Linked DNA regions of Homo sapiens: region 1 is linked to region 2. The links are contacts of gene promoters, found by promoter capture Hi-C in blood cells and fetal thymus (Javierre and others, 2016). All regions are on one chromosome and are shown on one strand. The core of a region is centred on a gene start or on the middle of the fragment in contact, and the rest is flanking DNA. Distances in the headings are between cores, read along the strand shown. Region 1 has its middle 53 kb from the start of LINC02458. Region 2 holds the start of KERA (keratocan).

Region 1 (2,700 bases), core at 43-2,542, 2.1 Mb before region 2:
AGTCAAACTGTTGATCTGATTTTCTTATATCTTTGTAATCTTGGCCACATCTTTGGTTGTAGCCCCTTTTCCACTCTTAACATTGTTTATTTTGCCTTCTCTCATTTTACTTGGCCAACCTTGCCAGAGGCTTCTCACTTTTATTAGTTCTCTTTAAAAAGATTGCATTTGGTTAATTTTTGATATGTTTGTTTTCAATTAAATTTATTTCTGTTGTTTGTTAATGACTCTTCATTTTTAAGGGGTGGTTTATTCTGTTATTCTCTTTCAAATTGTATAAAATGGGAGCATGTGTGATCATTTTATCCTTCTTTATAAAGATATGATTATCTCATCCTTCTTTATGGAAAGGGCTCTACTTCTCTGCCCACTAATTTTGGTCTGACCTCTAGAACTTGTTTGGGATAATGGAATGTAAGCAGAAGGAACAAGATGTCGGTTCTTTAACTACCAATTCTGAGCACAACTCTTAGGAGATATTGTGAATTCCTAGCACAAAAGCTGGACTTGCAGCTTGGATCATGGACTGGGAAGACATTAGAGCAAAACCCACCCTACTTAAACATCTAGCAGAGCTATAGCTGAGCCAAGATTCAGTGTAACATGAACAAGAAATTATTTTTTGTTGGTATAAGTGCTAAGCTTTTGAGCCCATTTCTTACTATAGCAAAGTTGATTAAAACAAATCTTAGTATCTCAAAGATAGGTACTCCTATAACAATTGAAAATCTGTGTCTTGACTTTGAGGCCAAGAGACAAGTTGTAAAGATACTATTTTCAGAGGCTGGAACGATGATGACCCATGATATGCAATGGCAAAATATTTAGCAAACTGTCACCTTTAATAACTCAGAAAACAGATAATAGATCTACCTATTAAAGAGTGGCTTTGGAAGGAGTTTCACAACAGAATATTACTAATGTTACCTTTTCCTCTGAATTGCCATAAGAGCTCAGAGAAGAATAGGTTGCTTTGCAAGCAGGGAAGAAGCAGAAATTAGAGTAACCAGATTCTAGGGACTGACGGATAGGAAAACATAATTTTTTTAATTAGTAGAAAATAAATGCTTTGAGCAACAAAATCTCAGATTAAAACACATGTCCAAATAAAGGACATTGCCATTCATATCCTTTGTTAAAAACTATGAATGGTTTAAGATGACTACTAGAAAATTATGCCAGTTGGACAAAATGACTTAGAAGAAAGAGATGCCAACAGTTTCCTTGAAGCTGGGTAGCTCACATTATTTATAAGTAAGTCTGGAGAGAAAGGCACATTTCCAAATAACAGAGGTGTAGCTATTTGAATATGTTGCTGATTAAAATCAATTCATTGAAAAAACAATCATGTTTTTCAGAGAGTTATAATGCCAAAAGTTCCAATAGCCTGGATTAAAATAGACTGTAACTGTTAAAATATAAAACAACTTTTGGGCTTCCAGCTTTCTAGGAGAAAGGAGCAGGCTTAACAAGCTGCTCAGCCCCCAAAGATGCATATTATTCAATACCCTTTTGAGATATGGCCAAGGAGGAAAATAGAAAATAACTCTTCTGGAGAGAAGTGCTTGGCACCATGGAATATAGACTGGGCAAAATAAAGGCCTAATCACATAACATTTCTTATCCTCTTTCCAATGGGAGTAGTTTTTGCAGTAATTGTTCACTGTCCCATGATCCTGTATTTGAGGGCAGTGCCTTTTTATGTGTTAGATCTCTAGATCTTCACTCAATGGAGACACTATCATGAGACCCTAGGTATTGACCTTGAATCTGATATTAGGATTTCTTCATTAGGGGAGGGAGTTAATATATTTTGATTGTAGAAACAAAGAAACTTATTTTTTTATTAAGATAGCAGATAGTAGTATATTTCCTTGGAAAACACCTCAATCCATAGACCTTGATATTGGGCATAGACTAGACAATGTTCCAGTTCTGGGGAGAAGCTTTAAGGTACAAATGACTTTCCAACACCTATCTTGTTCTTCACCCTACCATTAGGAACAAGAATAGATTGGTCTCCACAGTAGTTCCTTCAACCTGGGTCTTGGAATGATAAAACACATGAAGCAAGCTGCAGGGAAGAACAACACTGGGGCAGAGCAGTATCTGACTCACATCTACATGTAATGTGAAAAGGAAATACATTTTTGTCAGTGTAACACACTGAGATTCATGGTGGTATGTTACTGTAGCAAAACCGACTGAAAGAGATGCTTAGTTCATTAATTTTCACATCTTTTTTCCTAATAAAAGAAATTAGAGTTACAACAGGACTACAAATTAGTCCATTTTCACACTGCTATAAGGAACTGCTTGAGACTGGGTGATTTATAAAGAAAAGAGATTTAATTGACTCGCAGTTCAGCATGGCTGGGAGGCCTCATGGAACTTACAATCATGGCAGAAGATGAAGGGGAAGCAAGACATGTCTCACATGGCAGCAGGAGAGACAGAAAGCTAAGGGAAAAGTACCACTTTTAAACAGTTAGATCTCGTGAGAACTCACTATCACAAGAACAACATGAGGGAGACCACCCCCATGATCCAGTCACCTCCCACCAGGTCTCTCCCTTCACATGTGGGGATTACAATTCGACGTGAGATTTAGGGGGTGGACACAGAGCCAAACCATATCATAACATTTTATCTGAGTACTGCATTAATTGTATTCCACAAGGCTAATAGATAATATGTTCA
Region 2 (2,700 bases), core at 40-2,539:
GATGAGATTTCCTAGGCCTTTTGGCCCTTGAACCAAAGGAATGAAGGGATCAAAGAACATTTTAGCACTTTATGGTGAAGGAAGGTTCTAGGATCTGAATAAAAATGTAATTAATCTGTTATTCTCTAGCTCAACCTCTCAAGTAAGTTTTTTGAGGGTGGGGGAAGATGTCTATAATTTTAAGCACACAATTAAGTTGTTCAGCCAAGCTATTGAATTATCAATTCTCTCTCTCTCTCCCTTTCTCTCTCTCTCTCTCTCTCAGAGAATATGTATATTCTGTCTCTATATATGTATATATATGTATATATAGAGATAGAGTTTATTATATAGAGTTGAATACATTGTGATGTATAGCACAAGTACATGAGTATTGTATTCAACTATGCCATTATTATGGTTGATAAGAAACAAAAACAACCAAAAACATATTTAGGATACGGGTGGAGAATTTCTTTATATTCATATTATCAGTGTGGATAATGGAAAGTAGGTTAGCGTTTACTAATATTTGATACATTTAAAACACATAAACCCTCCCCACTGATCATCAAAGATTATTGGTACAAATAATTATTTTAACAGGAAATATACATATATATTTTAATAATTTATAGCATACATATGTTACATATATATTTATATATATATATATATATCAGTAACATTCTGACCAATGTACATTTATTGAACTGATTGATAATAGGATGAAATAAATTTTACTGATTCCTTAGGAAAAGATAAAGTCAACTTCATTTATGAAATGCTGATCATTCAATTTTGCCATTAAATTGCAGAAAACAAGTGCAGAACTGCTTCTGCAAGCTGTCAAATTTTCTAGGATTGCAGAACGCTGCTCTGGCCATGTTCCAACAAAGAAACATCATTTTTTTTTTTCTTTTTCAGAATAGGGTTTTGGTTTAGTTATTGAAGTTGTAACCCTGCGTCTGTTGAATAAGTACTTTGCATGCTTAACTTTAAGAGTTTTTAAAAGTGCAAAATAGTTTACCTTGCCTTCCAGGAATACACCGTTGAGTCCTGTGTCTCAGTCTGAGGTTTGCTAAAAATCAGTTAAGAGAAAAAAAAAAACTTTGACGAAAATAATTTGTTTTTACTTTAAGCTGTCAAGTCGTCTATGAGAAACAGTGAAACCTACTCGTCCCAGTCACCATGAACACCTTTGATCTATTGTTTCCACTTTGACAGGGCTTCAGAAGACTGCTTACCTCAGCCTTCTTGGATCTTCTTCTTCCTTTTCTATTGGTCACTGCTTGTACATGGTAATGGATTGACCCAGGCTCCACTGTCGTGTTTTTATGAATCCTCGGTAAAATATATGCACTAGTAGATCCAAATTTAACCCCTCCAACAACCACGGAATCTTAGTGCCTACACAGCCCAGCAAAGGAAATTCTTACTTTAATCCTAATAACTCATAAAAAAATTTCTAGGCAATTTTCATTCCTAATTCACAGTTCAATTCATTAGTATATGTTGTCATGTACTGATATCCAGACCTTATTTACCAATAGGCAGCTGAAGGCAGTTTTAAAGTATAACAAAAAGATATTTTAAAAGATTTTAAAACATTTTCCCTAGATGATCATTTCTTAAAAATTGAATACAAATAATTAAAAGCCAATGTCTTCTGTTTATATGGACATATTTTATCTGTTCCTGATATAAAATAGATGCTGTAATGTGTTTGACTAAGGGAAAAATAAATAAATATATGTATTTGAAAAAATGTAAATGTGATATCTGGAAAGCACTACCTGATTTTGGTGCTAATCTTGGTATTATGCTTTTTTTCAGAGAAATAATTTTTGTATCCCTATTTCCTATTATATTTCTTTTAACAATTTATTCCAAGTACCTGCTAAGGTGGGATAATTTTTTATTCATTATAATATAACACATGTTTTGCATATAGTCCCTTATGAGACATTCTGTTACACTGCTACTTTTTTCTTTAACACATATCTAAAGTAGTGTGTCCTCCACTTCTGATACTTGATGAAAAAAAATTATGCTTCTTGAGAAAAGATGCAAACAAAAAATATTTCATTTAGGTGTTATTATGTGGATTGATTGTTGTTTTGTTTTTCAAAATCTCTCTTATTCTAGCTTCAGTGAATGTTATATGACTCATTTAACAGCTCACATGAGTATTGTCAAAGAGCACCGTGAAGAGGATTAAGCATTGGATTCAGAGGACCTTTTGTGAACCACCTCTTTCCTCTCTCCTAACCATAGGAGGGTAAATTAAAGTTCAGTTTTGTCATCTACAAAATAGTAATGGATTGCTTCACAGAGTTAGGTCTAGTTTGTTATAAACAATTACAGAAATAATAGCCTTATTTGGAATTAGCCCTACACTCTCAACTGGAAAATGCATTTATATTAAAGGGTTTTTATAGATTGAGATCCTATTTTGACATGATTTTTTACTAGTCCTATAGGTATGTAGGTGTACTCACATCACATTTTAAGAAGACAACCAAGTGTTACTTGCTTTCTCACAACAATTGTCTCCTCTCTCTGTTGCATTTCTCCCTCTCCTTTTCCTAAACCCTCAGGATTTAAACAACAGATGATCTTCAAATCTGCATGGCCCTCTTCCAGCTATTGTCTTACTGTTGATTTTTTTAGCCAAACTGATTTTAGTCTTTTTATAATTTTCTTATACAAATGTTGCTA

What was found. The method cuts DNA at HindIII sites, captures the fragments that hold promoters and counts their contacts. A CHiCAGO score of 5 or more calls a contact.
Region 1: a contact is called between a fragment that was not itself captured here and the fragment with the promoter of KERA in region 2, in 1 of 17 cell types (total B cells). The highest score is 6.4, in total B cells.

Annotation. Positions count from the first base shown.
Region 1 is chr12:88,965,254-88,967,953 of GRCh38, forward strand. No RefSeq gene overlaps it. Among named protein-coding and RNA genes, the nearest start is that of LINC02458, 53 kb to the right of the region's middle. The HindIII fragment of the contact is 1,304 bases long and covers 641-1,944 here.
Region 2 is chr12:91,056,735-91,059,434 of GRCh38, forward strand. It overlaps KERA (keratocan), which reads right to left and starts at 1,290. Exons shown (of 3, transcript NM_007035.4): 1 at 1,010-1,290. The HindIII fragment of the contact is 7,392 bases long and covers 1-2,700 here.